Regions from separate parts of the Homo sapiens genome. Here regions 1, 2, 3, 4 and 5 are each linked to region 6. Evidence: promoter capture Hi-C in 16 types of primary human blood cells and fetal thymus (Javierre and others, 2016). All regions are on one chromosome and are shown on one strand. The core of a region is centred on a gene start or on the middle of the fragment in contact, and the rest is flanking DNA. Distances in the headings are between cores, read along the strand shown. Region 1 holds the start of WDR12 (WD repeat domain 12). Region 2 holds the start of TYW5 (tRNA-yW synthesizing protein 5). Region 3 holds the start of XRCC5 (X-ray repair cross complementing 5). Region 4 holds the start of BARD1 (BRCA1 associated RING domain 1). Region 5 holds the start of ATIC (5-aminoimidazole-4-carboxamide ribonucleotide formyltransferase/IMP cyclohydrolase). Region 6 holds the start of PIKFYVE (phosphoinositide kinase, FYVE-type zinc finger containing).

Region 1 (3,099 bases), core at 305-2,804, 5.4 Mb before region 6:
TTTACCTTTTGGAGGGCCTAAATTCACACACACACATATGACATGTATCCATTCATTTCAGGGGTTAAAACACAGTGGCCTATTATCTCTTACAACTTCATGTGAATCAACAATTATCTCAAGGCTGGACGCAGTGGGTCATGCCTGTAATTCCAGGACTTTGGGAGACCGAGGTGGGCGGATCACTTGAGGCCAGGAGTTCGAGACCAGCATGGCCACCAAGACAAATTCCTGTCTCTACTAAAAATACAAAAATTAGCCAGGCTTGGTGGCACATGCCTGTAATTCCAGCTACTCTGGAGGCTGAGGCGGGAAGATTGTTTGAACCCGGGAGACAGAGGTTACAGTGAGCCAAGATCCCACCACTGCAGTCCAGCCTGGGCAACAGAGTGAGACTCTGTCTCCAAAAAAACCAAACCAAACAAACAAAAAAAAGCCCCACATATTTCAAAAAATTTTATTTTAAGAAAAACAAAAAAACCTACTTTCAATTAAAAAACACAGTGGTTATGTTAATGCATCACCACATTCCTAGAGAAGTATTAAGGCAATGTATGTAAGTAAGTACATATACTCAGGTGCATTGATAATACGATTTATGTATACTTTCAGCAACAACACAAGGGGAGAGAAGATGATTTACTAGCTCTCCTCATAAAGCTACAAACAAAACCACAGATGTAACTCAGGTGGGAGTTTCCTAGTTTATGGCTAACTTTAGCTTATTAACACGACAAATATTATCATTTTCACTGAAAAATTTGACATTTTTTGTTGACTCAGCCAATCCAAGAAGCTTAATTAATATATAGTCCCTGCCCTCAAGAGACTTCCAATATAGTTGGAAGAGACCAGGCAAACACAAAGAAAGCTAACAATGCAATATATACCACAAGGCAGCATATAATTAGTTTTCGAATGAGTGCTAACAGACCTTGAGACCACTGGTTAAAATGTTTATATATCTATATAGATATACATAAATGGTAAATATGTTTTTTCATTTTCAAAAACTTTTTTTCCGTTTTCAAAAACTGTGAACCACCACTAGCAGACACCCTATAACAAGGCCCACTGTTCATTTTTAAATTACACATATAAAATGTTTCATTCAGAAAGCAAACCTGAAGCCCTTCAGCCTCCTCCACACTCACAATTCAAATTATATAGAACCTACGAAGCTGGTTAGAAAGCAGGTAATCTCAGAAAAAAGGGTGGGGGTGACAGCAGAAACAACCAGGGATCCACAAGGTCATACCAAAGGGGTGGTCGGAAAGGAACCTGGGGAAGGGAGAGAAGGCTGGAACGCTTACTTACTTCTTGTTATCAGTGTAGAAGCGTGTTTGGAGCTGAGCCATGGCGAGGAGTACACACGACTTGCCCACGGAAACGTACGGGTTAGCAGACCCACAACACGAAGCTCCTGCCTTTTAAGACTACAAAGAGGCAGCTCAAAATTAGACTGCACAGGTAAGCGAGGAACTGCAGTCTAAGCCTGGACTCTGCCTTCTGCCCTCCGGTCTCCTCTGCAGAAAGCACGAGGTTGCCCTTCTACAGACGCCCAGACCACAAACATCGACTACCTACTCCTAGATTTAGGAGTCATCGATTAGAAAAGGATAGTCGTAAAGGTAGCATGTCCCTTTAATCATTGTTAGAATTCTTCCCATACGTGTGGGCCCGTAATCGATTAGGAAAAAGATCCCACTCAAATCCGCTTTATTAATAAAAAATTTTTTTTCAAGAGGCTGTCCTGAGCCTGGATAGTTCAAACACAGCTCCTAGTTACTACAAGTCTCAGAAAGCATCGCTTCTCAAACGCTGTGACCACCGGGAATTGTAGTCTTTTTTTGCCACGCTGCCCTCAGAGTATCTTATTTGCATTAAATCCTCTAGACTCCAGCCAGATATCAAATTTCCTCTGCCTTCAGCTTTGCTTGACTAACGCCTTGCCAGTTTTTTTTTCTCATACATATTCCCAACCAGAGGCTCACTCGGCAGAGGTTTTTCCTAAATCTCGCCTCTAACTGCGGCTTTTAGAGAGAGGCGAGAGGCGGAAATACAAAGAAAAGAACGGATGAGAGAGGAAACGGTCGACGGTGGCCGATAGTGGTCCTACTGTCGTGGGACTGCTCTGCGCGCTCCCGGTGGGGCGCGCCTGCGCATTATGCTGGTCTCCATGGCGGGGCCTCGGAGCCAAGACGAGGTTGAGTAGACTCGTTTTGAATTTTCTCCCCTCTGCTCCGGCGGACTTCCCATGTCGCCTTGTGGGGCTATCGGCGGCGGCAGGACTGGGGGAGTCAGAGGTCTGGCAGCGCTGTCTGCGCAGACCTACCGGACGCTACCTCCCAACCCCCCGTCTTCCTCCTGCCTCCTCCTCCTCCCGTCACCTCCTGACCCGCCGGAGCTCCGAGCAACTGCCGGCCTCCGCCCCCAGCCGCAGCCGGTCACTGGCGGCGCCTTCCGCGCCAAGCTTGGGGGCCTTTTCGGGGTCCCACATGGCACGGCTTCCGACCCCCGGCCCGGGACGGGGCTCGCAGGCCCCAGAGGGGCAGGCTGGAGAAGGAGGAGGTTAGGTGTCTTCAGGAGGGTTGCTGAGCCCAAGGACGCGCCATCGCCGCGGAGAAGGAGCCGGACCCCTTGGGCGGAGCGCCCAATGTGTGGTCCCTCACGCCGTCCCGCACCTTGCTTTTTAGGGTTCTTTTTCCGCTTTCTGAGCCCTTTTATACCTTACGTTTAGAAGGGGAAAATCATCCTCCCACACCTTCTCCCCGACTTTTTGCCTTTTTTGTCTTGAAGTTACCCAAAGGCCTGTGTATTGTTCTCAATGGTCCCAAGAATTACTCTAATATAGTTGTTTTTCTGAGGGAGGATGGATGGAGATAACTATCCTGATCCCAATGTCACTTTTTAAGGCATTCGCTTCAAGAGACAAGCAGTTTAGAATCAGGCAGAACTGGATTGCAAAATTTATGGGCAGACCGGTATGTGTGCAGGTGAAGACAAAGCTTTCCTTTTTTACGTTGTTTAAAGATGTCCTACTGTAAGGTAGACGCCTAATGTTTAAATGAACGCCTAATATTTAAATAGAGAATGAGA
Region 2 (2,917 bases), core at 10-2,509, 8.3 Mb before region 6:
GCTGGGAATACAGGCGTGCGCCACCACGCCCGGCTAATTTTTGTATTTTTTGTACAGACGGGGATTCACCATATTGGCCAGGCTGGTCTTGAACTCCTGACCTCAAGTGATCCACCGACCTGGGCCTCCCAAAATGTTAGGATTACTGGCATGAACCACGGCGCCCAGCCCATCCGACTTTTGTAACACTCAGAATTGTAGTTTTGTTTGTTTGTTTGAGACCGAGTTTAGCTCTTGTTGCCCAGGCTGGAGTGCAGTGGCGCGATCTCGGCTCACTGCAACCTCCGCCTCCCGGGTTCAAGCGATTCTCCTGCCTCAGCCTCCCGAGTAGCTGGGATTACAGGTATGGGCCACCACCATGCCCGGCTAATTTTGTATTTTTAGTAGAGATGGGATTTCTACTGGCTGGTCTTGAACTCCTGACCTCCGGTGATCCGTCCGCCTCGGCCTCGCAAAGTGCTGGGATTACAGGCGTGAGCCACCGCGCCCGGCCCCAGAACTGTAATTCTATGACCACCCTTATAAATGTAAATATCAGGTAAGAAAATTGCTGGGTATTTTTCCTACCATAAACTGACTTACTGTAATCCTGTGGATTTTTCCTTTTAATACCTTGTTTTTCTTAGGTCTGGACTCCCTTGAAAAGCACTGCAAGTAAAAGCACTTTTTGTTTCCCTAATATTTCTCTATGAGTTTTCTTTTAAAGACCTAAGGTTCTAACTACAGGTATAAAAGACTCCAATGTCGGAACTAGAACCTAAGTAAGTTAGAATTCAAGACGAGTAGGAGTTTTCCGGGGGAATCCCATTGCTTTCCTTTTTGGCTCAGTGGAGTGAAAAGTTGTGCCTTCAAATCCATTAATTCGGAGCAGACTGACAGATGCGGAGTAAAGAGTTTAGGCAAAATACCTCTCGCACTCAGCTCTCCGCCATCATCTTGCTCCCCAGAAACATGGGACTTTCTCCGGAAATTTCAATAGAGGAGCCAGTCGGCGTCCCCCGTGCACCTTTCCCTTGGTCTAAGGGCCAACCAGTGATCTGCTGCCGTCCTGCGCCTCTTTCCCACACCCTGGGTCTCTAAAAACCAGTTCCCAGCTGTCCGAAAGGTAAAGACGTGTCTCTCGCTGGTTTCTCGAGGTTCTGCCCCGCGCGAGGGCCTCACCTGTGGGTAGAGGTGCTGCATGAACTGCTCCCGAGAAACGCCCTCCAGCCGGGGTACCGGGAGGTGCTGCCCGGCCATGGTTGCTCACGCCTGCCCTCTTCCAGGTCTTCGGAACTTCGGCTCTAAAGCGTTCCTCAGCGCCATCCGCCCGGAAACACGAGCGACAGAGAAAAGGTCCGCGAGGCCGGCAGACTCCAGAGTGGCTGGGTCCGAGCGCGGGGCGGGTTGCCGAAGGGCCTCGGCCTGGGCTGCGTGCTGGAGAGCGGGGACGGGGCCGACTCACCAGAGGCTGCAGCAACAGGTCCACTTTGCTCTCCAGTCTCTTTCTCCGACACCGCTGAGGCGGTTTCCCACCGACTTCCTTTCCATACAGCACCGGCAGGCACCGGTGTGAAGGGTCATAAAAATGGCGCTGGCCGCTCGTTTGCTACCCCAGTTCCTGCACTCTCGGTCGCTGCCCTGCGGGGCCGTCCGACTCCGGACTCCTGCTGTGGCCGAGGTGAGGCTGCCGTCGGCCACACTTTGCTACTTCTGCCGCTGTCGCCTCGGCTTGGGAGCGGCGTTATTTCCACGAAGCGCTAGGGCCTTGGCAGCCTCGGCGCTACCTGCCCAGGGCTCCCGGTGGCCAGTGCTCAGCAGCCCGGGACTCCCCGCAGCCTTCGCTTCTTTCCCTGCCTGCCCTCAGCGCAGCTACAGCACGGAGGAGAAGCCCCAGCAGCACCAGAAAACCAAGATGATCGTCCTGGGATTCTCCAACCCCATCAACTGGGTTAGGACTCGAATTAAGGCCTTCCTTATCTGGGCCTATTTCGACAAAGAGTTCAGCATCACAGAGTTCTCCGAGGGAGCGAAGCAGGTTTGTTTATTTCCCTGATTGACCTATCCGTCTCTAATGAGTTCAACTATTGCTCGCAGAAGTGCTTAGCAGTGAGTTTTCTTCACTGGGATACAAGTGATCAAACGTGATTAGTGGCCCAGACATAGAGCCTTCCAGCCATTGCTTGACTTAAAGTAAGCTTCTGGGCCGGGAATGGTGGTACACGCCTGTAGTCTCAGCTACTTGGGAGGCTGAAGGGGAGGATCGCTTGAACCCAGGAGTTGGACGTTGTAGTGAGCTGTGATCGTGCCATTGCACTCCAGCCTGGGATACAGAGCCAGGCCCTGTCTCAGAAAGAAAAAGCTATATGGCTCATCTTGTCTGAACATAATTTTCAAATTTACAAAGTGGGCAAGACAATGCCTGGCACATAGTAGGCACTCCATGAATGTTTGCTGAATACATTAATAAATGGGTAAGATTGAAGAATAATTGAGATAACATTTCCAAAGTGCTGTAATGTCACCTTGGGTAGAAGAGCAGAACTTCCTGCCAGCTATTAGACAGAGCCGACCAATACACCACCCCATACTCCGTAAAGATTAAACTGGAGATGAGCAATTTTACCCTTTCAAAGGATTTGCTGAGACTGCCTGGTGGCTAAGTGCACAGCACCCTGCACACAGAAAATATTTAGCCTTTAGAGATTCTTATCCCTGACTTTGTTAGTTACGTACCTGTTTCTGAATGGCTGATTATACCTTGCCTTACCCTTGTGACATATGGTCACTTGGGTCCTGAGATTATTTGTAGATTTTGTGGGTACATGCTTTTTTTTTTTTTTTTTGGACTCCTTTACAGATTGTATCGTTCCCAAACATTGCAGAACTGCTGATAACAATAGAAGTCGGCCAGGCATGGCGGCTCACGCCTGTAATC
Region 3 (2,977 bases), core at 192-2,691, 7.8 Mb after region 6:
CCACCTTTGCTGGAGGAGATTTAGCTGACAACCTCACAGATCTTCCCCGCCCCTTCTGCCGAGCTGATCTTTCTCTTGGAAATCTTACCCGCAGGGAAGGGCGAGTGTCCGTGCCTGCCTGCCTGCCTGCTGCAGCCCGCGCAAAGCTGAGCGGCCAGGGCGCTGCTGTTCCTTTAAAGTATTATTAAAAATAATATTTCAGCTTTTAAGTAACTCCTTGAGTTTGAATCAAAAGCTGGAAGAACCTCCTGGGCTCTATGAGCACCTCTGAATATGTCTGACTCTACATTCTAGAGGCTTCAATGTATTTATAATTTTGGCTCATAGATTCTCCACATCTTTTCAGCTTCAATTCTTGCTTTTCCCAGAAACAATTTTCAAGCAGGAGAGAATATTGATTGGACTTGATTTTCTCAGTTTGGGCAGAGGTTTGCAGACACTTTGCAGGTTGCCAGACCCTTCGTCCAGCCACCTGTCAGCTGGGGGTCATATGGTATAGAAAGCAGTCATTTCTATGCAAGGTACTGCTTGGGCCTGCCTCCCTCAAAGGGGTAGGGGATGCGGGCTGGACAAAGGGCTCGTGATCAAGTAAAGCACTGTGATGACAGCTGCTATTTCTATATCTCCCTAGACTTGTCTTCTAAATTAAACCTTGACTCCTCCCTTCCAAGCTGGAGCCACTGCTAACTACTGGGAGAGCCTTAGCAGATAAAGTCTCATGCCTCCAGGCGTTTGTGCATCCCATTTTCTCTGCAGAGTAGAATCTCCCTTCTACTTTTGTGCTCCTGGGGACGTCCTACTCTTCTTCCCCAGTTGGCTCTAAGGTTATCACATCGGTGAAGTGTTTCATTATCACTTTTTAGAAGAAACTGAGTCTTTTAGAGAAGTTAAGTGACTTTCTGCATTCATACTCATACTCAAGAAAATCTAACTCCACAATAACCAAAAATAAAAAGTAGAAAAAAACCCACAAGTGATGAGAAAAAAAAAAATCAAAAGTTATAAAAAATAAATGAAAAAATGAAATTAAAGGAAAAAAGATTTTTTAAAAAAGTAAAAAAAAGAAAAGAAATCTAACTCCAGAGCTCTGACACAAAATGCCTTAGGTGTTATTCTCAATGAGAGAAAAGGGACGTGAATCTTTAAGTGATTAAGTGAATCTTTAAGTAAATCTGTCGTACTAGCGTTTCAGGCGGCTCAAACACCACACGCTCCCGACTACGGCGGAATGGAGAGAATGTGCGCATGCTCGGCGGGAATCTGCGCATGCTCGGCGGGAATCTGCGCATGCTCGGAGAGAATCTGCGCATGCTCGGCCGGAATCTGCGCGAGCTCGGCGGGAATCTGCGCAAGCTCGGCGGGAATCTGCGCATGCTCAGAGTTCCGGGGCACGGTTTCCCCGCCCCTTTCAGGCCTAGCAGGAAACGAAGCGGCTCTTTCCGCTATCTGCCGCTTGTCCACCGGAAGCGAGTTGCGACACGGCAGGTTCCCGCCCGGAAGAAGCGACCAAAGCGCCTGAGGACCGGCAACATGGTGCGGTCGGGGAATAAGGTATAAAGAAAGCCATGGACTTGGGCTTTACCCGGACTGGGGATCCGGAGAGGGTGGTTCGGAAGCAGGAATCGTGGGATCGCGGTCAAGACAAAGAATGGGGCAAGAGAAGATCATGGTGGTGGGCTCAGTCAGGAGGGCCGGGACCGAGGGATGCGCTATGAGAAAAGCTGGAGATTTGGGGCTCCAAGACCTGAATTTGAGCCTCGCTGACTCCACCTCTTCCATTACCCACCCATCCCATCCCTCTTCTCCCTCTCTACCTGCTCTTTGTCTCACCTGCCTCCCCACCCGCCTCCCCTCTCTCTCTCTTTATCCCATTCCACTCCCTAGCCCCACTTCCTCTATTACTTCCGAGCCTGGGTTCTTAAGATCTCTATGAGAATGAAAATTAGCTGTGATAAAGCAACTATCCCACAGGGCTTGTTGTAAAACTTAAGAGAGGGACTATCTGTGACTAAAATAACTTAAACTGTAAAGCGTCGTATTATTAGCTTTATAATAACGTAGTATCCCGCATTTATTGAAAGCCCACTCTGTGAGGGACGGATCTAAACCTTTTATTCTTATCTCATTTAATCTTCACAACCCCTTGAAGTGAAAACTATTTATCCCCATTTTGCAAGTGGGAAAACCGAGGAATAAAGAACTGTGGGCTTTTCCTGGTGAAATCCGGATTTGAATCCAAGCTGTCTGGTTTCAGGGCCCTGGAGAACCCCTGTGTTGCTAGAAATCTATGACCATTGGTGTCCCAGATCAGTAACAGAAATTACAATGAATTTTAAAGTGATTTTTTTTTTTCAACATAAAAGAGTGGTAGTTGTCTCTGAAGGGTCACTAGAGGGAGATGTGGTTCCAGGGATTAATGAATTTATTCAATACAGATAAACAAGATACGAGTTTGAGCAACTGATCCCTAGTTCCCTCAACTCCTCATTGAGAAATGTTGATTAAAACGATCATGAACTTTTAATAATGCCACTCACCTCCTTTTTTCGTCCTCTTTCAGCTGCTGAAAACTTTGTAGCTCTAGTGGAGGAGCTGTTTGTTGCAGATGAACTGGAAGTAAAATTCTAACAGCCTGTATTGCTTCGGTATAGAAATGAAGAGTTGCTATGCTACCCGGTTTCTCTTTCTCAGTTTTCTTACTGCTGCCAGATAGGAACTCAGAAATATAGACCATTCTGCTTCCAGACAATAAGTTCCATATTTGAAACCCTTTGATGGCACTTACTGGATACCTAATTCATGACAAAAGTGCTTTAGTCCTCTAGAGTTTTCTGGTTTAAAAGTAGCTTTTGTGGGTGTGTATCAAATAAGTGCAGCAGCATATTTTGTGACTCTTAAGTTTTTTTAGGTTATCATGCCCCAGGCATTGAAACTGGGATGTGCATTTTACTGTTCTCAAAGGAATTTTGTGGTTTAT
Region 4 (3,244 bases), core at 115-2,614, 6.5 Mb after region 6:
GAATGGCGTGAACCCGGGAGGCGGAGCTTGCAGTGAGACAAGATCGTGCCACTGCACTCCAGCCTGGGCGACAGAGCGAGACTCCGTCTCAAAAAAGGAAAGAAAAGAAAAAGTTGTGTTACTTATACTTTATGCAACTAGGTAACTTAAGTTCTGCAAGTTAGAAATCAAAGGGGAAAAAAGTCCAAAAAGGATATAAACTTTTGACAGCTACAAATAACAAAAAAACTGCCAGTGATCTTCATACAGAAATACTTAGCTGTACACACAGCAAGTGCTCAATAAAAATGCTTTTCAGAAGAAATGAAAATGAGACAAACCTTTCTTGGGTTTTACAAACCTTCTTGGTTTGTATACTAGAAAGAGCTACACGAAAAAAAGCAAGAAGTAACACTCATGAAAATGTCTTTGGACGGAATGAAAACCCTGAGAGGACTCCCATAATGTGACAGCATGAAGGAAAACAATAAACAGCATCACTAAGAGCGGGGACACCAGACATACAGTCTTTTGAGCAAACTAAGAAAATGAGAAATTCCGTGCCATCTTCAATCTACAACTATGGTAGATATCCGATGCTCCATCCCATCTCACTCGAAAAAGCTGGCACGGAGAAAATGTCAAAAAGGCCAGTTTAACTTAGAGTGGCAGCTGCTTCTAATTTAGAGGGTCTCCGGGGCGGCCCGCCAGCCCAATTCGCCACAGCTCCCGGAAAGCAGCGGGGTAATCCAGGGCCGGGTAAAAAATGCAGAAGCCTCAGCCCCACCCCAGCCCGATTCAAACTCTGGAGGCGCGACCGGGATGAACATTTTTTTAGCCACACCTCCAGACGGTTCTTCAGCCCGCTGAAGTTCAAAAACTACCGTTTCAGTTGGATTCAGGGCAAGGGGAGGCCGGTAAGTCGCCCAAAAATAAAGTGAATGAGAAGCAGAAGTTGTTAATACTATATCCCCCGGCAGGTGCTAACCGCACGCCGACCCGACTGCAGCGCGGGAACGGAAGGAGGAAACGGAAGATTTGAAAAGATTCTGCCGCCCCCAGAAACTGTGCGACCCGTGCCCTCGCAGCCACCCCCAAGAAGCTCCGTCTTTACCAACGCGAGCAGCGCAGCAGCTTCTCCAGGCGGTCGAGCGCGGCGCGACTGTGGGCCCAGGCACCGCGACCATCCGGTTCCATGGCGGGCGCGGAACGAGGCTCGTTCCCGGAGCGGATCCTCGGCTGCCGGTTCCTCGGCTGCCGATTATCCGGCATCGTCCCGCCTTCGGATGAAAGGCTCCTCGCAGAGCGGGAAGCAAGGAAGCCTCGGGAAACCACAGGGAAGCTGCAGGCCAGCGACTCGAAACCGGCCAAGCTCTTCCCGCGTCTGGGACGGCGGGCCGCCAGAGGGGCGGGGCGCGCGGGGAGGGGCGGGGCACGGCGGCCGCAATGCTCCCAAAATAGGGACTCGCAGGGCACAGGGGCGGGGCCGCGAGAGCCAGCCGCTGGCCGAGTGGGCGGGACCTAGGGGTGGGGCTGGAGGCTGAAACTTGCCAAAGTCCCGGCGTGTGGGACTTAGGGGAGGGGCCGCGAGAGCCGTGGGACCGAGGGGGCGGGGCCGGACGGCTGAAACTTGCCAAAGTCCCGGCGCGCGGGTCCTAGGGGCGGAGCCGCGAGAACACGCCGGGGACAGAGGGGGCGGGGCCTAGGAGCCTCGGGGCGGGACAGGACGGTCGAAACCGAAGTCCTGGCGCGCGGGGCCCAGGGGCGGGGCCTAGGGGCCTCGGGGCAGGACAGGACGGCTGAAACCGAGGTCCCGGCGCGCGGGGCCCAGGCGCCGTGCAGTGAGAGCACGCCGCTTGACCGAAGGGGCGGGGCCTGAAGGCTGAGCGCAGTCGCGAGGCTGTAGTTGGCAGGAGAGCGGGCGGGGCCTGAAGCCCCTCTGGGCTGCCTGGACGGATGAAGTCCAGGTGGAAAGCCAGTCGACGTTTCCCGGGAGCTACGACTCCAGGGACCCTCATCCGAGCTTAACCGTTGGAACAATCACAAACCCAGAAACTTTTAGCTGAGTGTTATTTATAAAAAGCGCTGTTTTGACTGCTGTTGGACTTGGAAAAGCTTTGCCCACGATACTGAAGGTACCACTCTTTGTTCCTAAGAAAGCAACCTTTTCTTTCCTCTCACCTCAGCTGTGGCGTATATTGTAACTGAGTAAAAATAAGGAAAGTTTCTAATTCTAACTAGTTAACAAATATCAGCTCAAAGGCATGTCTGAAAAGATCTGGTTTACTTTTAAAATATTGGTATAAAATTTCAAAAAGGGTTTTTTTTGTTAGAGAGTGTGTCCACCTTCCTCCTCCAGATCTTTCACTGATCGCCGTAATTTACAGATAAGACCTACAGAGCAACCCGTCATGCCTTCCTGCCGCGCCCCAAGTTCATTTCCAAGTCCTTGCATTTTTTCCCCCTAACTTGTCTCGAATGCACCCATTTTCTCTCCGTCTCTGCTCCACAACATCCCCAGTTGCCTCGTCCTCGCCTGGTTTCCTGTCGTAGCTTTCTAGCTGATATCCAAGTGTCTATCCAGGTCCCAGCCAGTCCCGAGACTGCGGTGTGGCCGCCTAAAACATTTCCAAACACAAAACTCATCGTGGCACTTCCCTTTCTTAAAACTCCTTAAAGTTTTTCTCTGCTCTTTGACTAGCCTCTTGTCAAAACCTCCTCTGGCCATCATGGTCCCAACCCCACAGTGCGTTCCCTTAGGTCATTAAAAGCCCCTGCACCTTGCTGCCTCATGGCTTTTGCGCAAAGATTCACTTTGGAACCTGGAATTGGCCTCCTCTCCATTCCTCATCCTTCAGAATACAGCTGAAGTATCACTCCTTAAAGGTTTTCCTAGTTCCTAGACTGGATTCTCTCAGGTGCATCATATCACCTGTGTATGTAGATACACACACATACGATTATGTGCGTGTCCCCTTCTAGTTCAAAACCTCCAAAAGGCCAGAGATTGGCTGCATGTGACTCATTTCCCAATATCGCTTCATGTGGCACATGCAGTGCTTGGCTCCAGGTAGGTGCTCAGTGTTTGTTGAATCATTGAACTACCTACCCAAGCCAGACCCAGCTTTAAGTGCTTTCCTATGTTAATACCTGCCTTAAGCCTTATAGGGACCCTATGAAATGGGCATTAGTATCTGTAGTGTCACCCCCAAATTCATATATTAAAAGTTGTAACCCCAACGTGATAGTATTTGGAGGGGACCTT
Region 5 (3,085 bases), core at 570-3,069, 7.0 Mb after region 6:
CAGGAGAATCGCTTGAACCTGGGAGGCAGAGGTTGCAGTGAGCCGAGATCGCGCTACTGCACTCCAGTGTGGGTGACAGAGCGAGAGTGTGGGTGACAGAGCGAGACTCTGTCTCAAAAAAAAAAAAAAAAATTGATTCTAGTCAATAGGTATTTATTTTGGGGAGTAAAGAGATGGGAAGAATTAGAGAAAGGAAGAGGAAAAACAAAAATAAATAGCATGCAGATAATGAGAAAATAGACTCATTTTTACAGCTGTGAGCTCAGACTAAAAGATAAACAATGCTATTACTTTGGAATATAATTCTAATAACACAAAAAAGACTCATAGACCACAATATGTATTTATTTTGTGGCAAAGGTGTCATTTTTAGAAAGAAACAAATGTGTTCAATTTTGCTTTCCCTGTTTTTAATGAATTAAGAAAGGTCTTCTCTTACCTTCTTTTGACTGTCATCATTCCTCTCATCCAGGAATATTTACAGGTTTGCAAGAAGACACCATCTTTAAGTAGTTTTTAGGCACTTTTACAATACTGACTAAATTGTATAAAATAGTATTATAAATTAATATTTAAATTATAATTTTATGACGTGAAAATCAACAACGAATGTCAATTTCACTTCGTTTTGACTGTCATCTGTGGCCTCTGGAGTCCCTCACTTAAATCATTGGTCCTTGGTTTTATTTTTTAAGCCTATTAAAAAGGAGGATGGGGCCGGGCACGGTGGCTCACACCTGTAATCCCAGCACTTTGGGAGGCTGAGGTGGACAGATCATTTGAGGTCAGGAGTTGAAGACCGGCCTGGCCAACACCGTGAAACCCCATCTCTACTAAATATACAAAAAAAAAAAAAAAAAAGTACAACAACAACAAAAAATTAGACGGGTGTGGAGGCAGAGGCAGGAGAATTTCTTGAACCTGGGAGGCAGAGGTTGCAGTGAGCTGAGATGGTGCCACTGCTCTCCAGTCTGGGAGACAGAGCGAGACCCTGTCTCAAAACAAACAAGCAAACAAGCAAGCAAGCAAACAAACAAAAAACAAGTTGGGCATGGTGGCTCACCCCTGTAATCCCAGCACTTTGGGAAGCCGAGGCAGGCGGATCACCTGAGGTCAGGAGTTTGAGACCAGCTTGGCCAACATGGCGAAACCCCATGTCTACTAAAAATACAAAAATTAGCCGGGCATCGTGGCGCCTGCCTATAATTCCAGCTACTCGGGAGGCTGAGGCAGGATAAACTCTTGAACCCGGGATGTGGAGGTTGCAGGTTGCACGTGACATAGCCGAGATCGCGCCATTGCACTCCAGCCTGGGCAACAAAAGCGAAACTCCATCTCAAAAAAAAAAAAAAAAAACAAAAAAAACAAAAAAACCCAGAAAAACAAAAAAACAACAAACAAAAAGGGAGGATGGTAGATAACTGTCCAGATACTTTCCAGCTTTGCCGCTATATGAACTATTCCTTTTGTTTAGTTTTCAGCATGGGAGCTTCTGGCACTTTTACGTACTTTCCAGCTTCTGGGGACCGGCTGCCTAGAATAACAGGCATTTGCCCCAGAGGCCGTGGAGTGGCCTCACTTTGGGGTCGTGGGCAGATCGCTGGCTCCCACGCCTGGACTTCGGGATCGCAGGCAGGATCCCTTCCAGCCCAAGCACTCCGCCCAGGCGCGCCAGGCAGAGCCCCACCCCATCCCGCCGTTCCCTTCAGCCCCGGGGCGCGGATCTTGCATCTGAAACTGAGCAGAGCAGGGCGCCGGGCAGGGCCGGCGGGCCACGTGATAAGCCCGGAAACAGCTCCGCCCCCTCGCTTCCTGAGCCGCCACATCCCGGCAGCCCTCCTACCTGCGCACGTGGTGCCGCCGCTGCTGCCTCCCGCTCGCCCTGAACCCAGTGCCTGCAGCCATGGCTCCCGGCCAGCTCGGTGAGGCCCTAGCGGAGCGGCGCGGTCTGCGTCCTCGCCTGCGGCCCCCCACGCTCCCGCCTTGGCGGCGGCCGGCGGGACCCGGCACTGCAGGGGCGGCGCTGCGGGATTGAAAGCCAGCGTCCCCGCTCCCCGGCCGGGCCGCAGCCTGCGTGGGGCCCGCCTTAGAGCAGCTCGCGGGTGTAAGACCTGGGGAGGCCCGGACCAGGCCTGCGAACGCAGGGTCCAGGTGCTGGCCTTGCGATTCGAGAATCTCCTCCCCCAGACCCTCCCAAGGCCTTGCAGAACACAGTGCAATGTGCTGCGAATCATGAGAAAAAATGTCTTCTCTTTCAGCCTTATTTAGTGTCTCTGACAAAACCGGCCTTGTGGAATTTGCAAGAAACCTGACCGCTCTTGGTTTGAATCTGGTCGCTTCCGGAGGGACTGCAAAAGCTCTCAGGGATGCTGGTCTGGCAGTCAGGTAAGGCATAGCTAGTTCCATCAGAAAGGAGTGTGATCACATTAACCAGGAAGTATTGTATTCCAGGCACCAGCAGCAAAACGCCTTATTTACTCCTCCCAGTAGCGCTGTGAGGTTGGTGTAATACTTCCCCACTTTATGGGGAAAAAAAGTGAGGCTCAGAGAGATTTAGCAACTTTTAAGACCCTGGACGGCTGGGCTAGGTGGCTCACGCATGTAATCCCAGCACTTTGGGAGGCCGAGGTGGGCTGATCACTTACGGTCAAGAGTTCGAGACCAGCCTGGCCAACATGGTGAAACCCGTCTCTACTAAAAATACAAAAATTAGCCGGTATGGTGGCACACGCCTGTAATCCCAGCTACTGGGAAGGCTGAGGCAGGAGAATCGCTTGAACCTAGGAGGCGGAGGTTGTGGTGAGCCGAGATGGCACTACTGCACTCCATCCTGGGTGACAGAGAAAGACCCTGGACAACACACTGGACAGATTTAGCATCTTCTGCACAAGTTTAAACAGTTGAGTAAGGGAAAAGTAGGATTGGAACCCGTGCTGTTCCTGATTTTAGGACACTAGTCTTAGCCCCTTCCTTAAACAGATTAACTTAGGTGGGCCACTTGTTATGCAAGGAAAACTTCAGTTACTTTGACTGGTGATTTAATAAAACTCGACATCATGAAGATTCCAATTTACCTGCCTTCCCT
Region 6 (3,211 bases), core at 601-3,100:
TATACACAGACAAATAATCTCTCTACAGATAAAATTCATCTGGAATTAATTTTGGATGTCTAGTGTGAAGTGAGAATCTAAAATGATTTCTTTTGCAAAAACAGTAGCCCAGTTTTCAATCTCTTTTCCACAGAAATTAAACTGTAAGCTAATATAGATATTAGACGGTAAGCTTCTTGAGGACATGGACTGTGTAATGTTCACATATATTTTTATTTTTTAGGCTAGTCAAGTGAAGCAGTGGGATACGTTCATAATTCTATCCTTAGTGTAGTGCTTCTATAACTAACACACTGCAGGTTAAATTAGGGACTCAAAAATATTTGCGGAGTGCACTTTTTTTTTTTTTTTTTAAACCATAGATGGAGTTTCTACATACACTGCAGTCGTCGTGGCTGGGCAATTTATTCTTTTCATATGATCTCTGTACCTATTTCATACTTTATTGTAGGTTTATGAAATATTAACATAGGGTGATAATTACGAGGGCCTTTTTTGCTTATCTTAAATTTTTAAAAAAAATTTTTTTAAAGGAAGGCAGAGACTTGAGCATCTTTATGGGCTGAGGAGGCAGAGTCATTGGAAAAGGGGAGGTTGCAGATACGGTGCAAGCTCCCAGACAGGAGAGGGTGAATTGGGGGCCAAAAGGATTGAGCTGGGGAAGAAGAGGCCCCTTCCTCAGAGAGATGAGGGAGAAAGGCAGACCAGGGCAGATGTGGATGTAGGTAAATGTTGTGGTGTGTGGGGAATTAGCTTGTTAAGGGTCACGCCCAGATACCTTGGGATTTTTCACGTGGGTATAAAATATGATTCTCTGATGAGAATGATGGTCAAGGTAATGTGGGGGTCGTGGTGGTGGTCTGACGCAGCAGTAATAAGGAATGGGAGAAGCTGACTACAGACTCCCAGAAAGATTGCTGAAGGGCCCAGCTGAGGATGGTGACTGGGATTTGCACTGGACTCAACCTGCAGGTTTCGATGGTGCTTTCCAACTCCAGGAAAACTGGGCTGGGATTTGACAAAACTCTTGAGGAAAAGGACTCACAGAATTTAAAACTGCATTTCCCTTTAGGTTTCGTCTGCTTTCCATCCTCCCCTACCAAGCCCCACAACTGCGGCGAGCATGTTTTCTGCAGTTAACTGCACTGCGCTCTCAGCAGGACAGAAATGACGAATAACTCTAGCCAAGCTGAACAAGATAGGGCTTGGGCTTGGTAACTTTATTTGCATCAGCATTTGCAACACAACACCTAAATGAAAAAATTAACTATAAAGCCGACATCACTTACTCTGGGTCAGGGAACTGTGCCATTCGCTTTAAGTGCATTTACTTAATCTCAAAAAAGTATTAAGAAGTGAGTCCTTTTATTAATCCGACTTTACACACCAGAGGTCTAAGGCCTAAATAAATGAGCAATTTGCTTAAGATCATATGGCTGGTTATTGGTGGAGTCATGCAAGTCTGGAAACAGAGTCATCGCTAACTCCGGTTCAGTGCTACACGAGTGAACTGTCTACAACAAAGCAATAACATATTATGAGTGCCCACAGTATCGAACACATACGGTAACCGCAGTCCAGCCAGCACCCCTGCAGTGCCCAGAGCACCAAGCACCCATCCGTTGACCCCGCATGCGTGACGCTCACGCGCGCAGTCCCCCTGGCTTCTTCCAGGAAGGCTGAAGCGGCCTAATCTCGGCCAAAAGATCAGGACGACTCGATCTGGGCTGGACTCCTTCTGCCTGAGCATCTGATCCGAGCGTCGGCCGGGCTGGGAGGAGCCGGCCCCCGGGAAAGATTTCGGACTGGGGGACAGGAAAACAGAGGGCGGAGTCTTGGGGGGGGGAAGCGAGAAGCCGCATCAACCATGTAAGCAGCTTCGCTTCCTGCCGCAACCGTCCGCGGCCTGAGGAGCCCACCGCCGCTCTCGGGGGCCGACTTCCGGGGGCTGAGCCGTTGAAGCGGAGGCTGGGGCGGGGGGCAGCCGGCGCGGCCGGGGCAGGAGGCGCAGGTAAGGGAGGGGGCCTGGAGCTTGGCCGGCTGGGGCTCAGCATGGGAAGGAGGCCGGTATGGGGAGCTCCAGGGCCAGAGCTGAGGTGAAAGTGAGAACCAGGGCTCCGCAGTCGGGGGCTAGGGCCTGGCTGCCGGCTGAGCAAGGAAGGGCAGAGAATCTGGCTTTAGAATTAGCTTGTCCTCCCTATTCCCCGGCTGCCTTGTCTGGCGAGTGGGGACGGAAGCCGGGTGGGGCCCTTGAGATTTCCTTGGAAACATTTGAAGTTCCTTTGCCTCTCTCTCGACCCTTACGCCTGAACTTAATTAGGAGGGGAAGAGTACAGTTACTTTTCCCTCTGAGTGCATGAGTTCTGAGTTTGTCAGAGGCGCATCCGTAGGCTGGAAAAGAAAGTTCATGAGCTGCAGAAACGATACCAACCGTGGGGGTTCAAATAAGTGTTTGTCTTTTTAAATGCTTGCCTCTGCTATTTGAGACGATTCCATTTCAACTTAGGTTTTGGAGTTTCTTGAGGAGGAGCATTATTTCCCAATTAGTGTTTACCCTTTGCTTAGAATGTTCCCAACAAAAGGATGAGAATGGAATGTGTTGGAAACTTTTAGGACTTAGGGGTTTTCTGCCCAATCAGAGGTTATTCCTAAGACAGTCAAGAAATATAAGAAGTGCTAGAATTCTGTATAAAGCAAGTTATTCGTGTGTATCTGATGTGTATACATGATTCATTATCTACTATTGACGCAGTGCATCCTGTGTTGTAAAATATGTCCAGTGTTGACAATAGAGGTAGTCGCTTGGTATAATGTACTTATTTCTGATTTATTTGAGCCCCTTTTTTGGCACTCCAAAACTCCCACTCTGTCAGTTTTCTTACAAAAAATGTTCTTTCTTTTGTGTTTGTGACAAAGATTGTGTAGGTTAAATCTCTTCTGTGGAGCAAGGCTAATTTCCTGTGTTCTCCCTTTTTCTGCTTTCTGGATCCTGCTCTGGTTTTCCTTTAAGCGTGTTGGTCAAAAATTGAACAAGAAATCTTTGTTGATAGAAGCTAACATTTCCAATATTCAGCTTTCCTAAATTATTACATTGCCAGTTTTTTTTTTTTTTTTTTTTGAGAGACAGAGTCTCGCTCTGTCCCCCAGGTTGGAGTGCAGTGGCGCGATCTCCTCCGACTGCAACCTCCGCCTCCCAGGGTTCAGGCGATTC

The links. The method cuts DNA at HindIII sites, captures the fragments that hold promoters and counts their contacts. A CHiCAGO score of 5 or more calls a contact.
Region 1: a contact is called between the fragment with the promoter of WDR12 here and the fragment with the promoter of PIKFYVE in region 6, in 2 of 17 cell types (non-activated CD4 T cells and total B cells). The highest score is 7.3, in non-activated CD4 T cells.
Region 2: a contact is called between the fragment with the promoter of TYW5 here and the fragment with the promoter of PIKFYVE in region 6, in 1 of 17 cell types (non-activated CD4 T cells). The highest score is 5.6, in non-activated CD4 T cells.
Region 3: a contact is called between the fragment with the promoter of XRCC5 here and the fragment with the promoter of PIKFYVE in region 6, in 1 of 17 cell types (total CD4 T cells). The highest score is 5.1, in total CD4 T cells.
Region 4: a contact is called between the fragment with the promoter of BARD1 here and the fragment with the promoter of PIKFYVE in region 6, in 3 of 17 cell types (naive CD8 T cells, non-activated CD4 T cells and fetal thymus). The highest score is 11.4, in naive CD8 T cells.
Region 5: the fragment with the promoter of ATIC here is called in contact with the fragment with the promoter of PIKFYVE in region 6 in 2 of 17 cell types (non-activated CD4 T cells and naive CD4 T cells); the score reaches 5.5 in non-activated CD4 T cells.

The regions. Positions count from the first base shown.
Region 1 is chr2:202,910,119-202,913,217 of GRCh38, forward strand. It overlaps WDR12 (WD repeat domain 12), which reads right to left and starts at 1,555. Exons shown (of 13, transcript NM_018256.4): 1 at 1,318-1,555. The coding sequence starts at 1,358. It overlaps CARF (calcium responsive transcription factor), which reads left to right and starts at 2,157. Exons shown (of 17, transcript NM_024744.17): 1 at 2,157-2,984. RefSeq lists enhancers at 1,738-1,887, 1,898-2,047, 2,088-2,287, 2,388-2,437. The HindIII fragment of the contact is 1,677 bases long and covers 795-2,471 here.
Region 2 is chr2:199,954,232-199,957,148 of GRCh38, forward strand. It overlaps TYW5 (tRNA-yW synthesizing protein 5), which reads right to left and starts at 1,260. Exons shown (of 8, transcript NM_001039693.3): 1 at 1,162-1,260. The coding sequence starts at 1,239. It overlaps MAIP1 (matrix AAA peptidase interacting protein 1), which reads left to right and starts at 1,351. Exons shown (of 5, transcript NM_001394955.1): 1 at 1,351-2,017. The coding sequence starts at 1,568. RefSeq lists enhancers at 904-2,103, 1,214-1,333, 1,504-1,663, 1,684-1,783. The HindIII fragment of the contact is 7,808 bases long and covers 1-2,175 here.
Region 3 is chr2:216,107,907-216,110,883 of GRCh38, forward strand. XRCC5 (X-ray repair cross complementing 5) reads left to right here and starts at 1,442. Exons shown (of 21, transcript NM_021141.4): 1 at 1,442-1,551. The coding sequence starts at 1,531. RefSeq lists an enhancer at 1,166-1,787. The HindIII fragment of the contact is 16,954 bases long and covers 1-2,977 here.
Region 4 is chr2:214,808,319-214,811,562 of GRCh38, forward strand. It overlaps BARD1 (BRCA1 associated RING domain 1), which reads right to left and starts at 1,365. Exons shown (of 11, transcript NM_000465.4): 1 at 1,094-1,365. The coding sequence starts at 1,251. It overlaps SNHG31 (small nucleolar RNA host gene 31), which reads left to right and starts at 1,911. Exons shown (of 4, transcript NR_110292.1): 1 at 1,911-2,114. RefSeq lists enhancers at 304-353, 644-723 and a silencer at 1,274-1,843. The HindIII fragment of the contact is 4,673 bases long and covers 1-2,092 here.
Region 5 is chr2:215,310,240-215,313,324 of GRCh38, forward strand. It overlaps ATIC (5-aminoimidazole-4-carboxamide ribonucleotide formyltransferase/IMP cyclohydrolase), which reads left to right and starts at 1,820. Exons shown (of 16, transcript NM_004044.7): 1 at 1,820-1,922; 2 at 2,259-2,385. The coding sequence starts at 1,904. LOC124907975 (a long non-coding RNA gene) reads right to left here and starts at 1,733. Exons shown (of 2, transcript XR_007088075.1): 1 at 440-1,733. RefSeq lists an enhancer at 1,524-2,174 and silencers at 1,705-1,784, 1,795-2,164. The HindIII fragment of the contact is 8,450 bases long and covers 1-3,085 here.
Region 6 is chr2:208,264,405-208,267,615 of GRCh38, forward strand. PIKFYVE (phosphoinositide kinase, FYVE-type zinc finger containing) reads left to right here and starts at 1,851. Exons shown (of 42, transcript NM_015040.4): 1 at 1,851-2,011. RefSeq lists an enhancer at 1,688-1,737 and a silencer at 1,868-2,137. The HindIII fragment of the contact is 8,601 bases long and covers 171-3,211 here.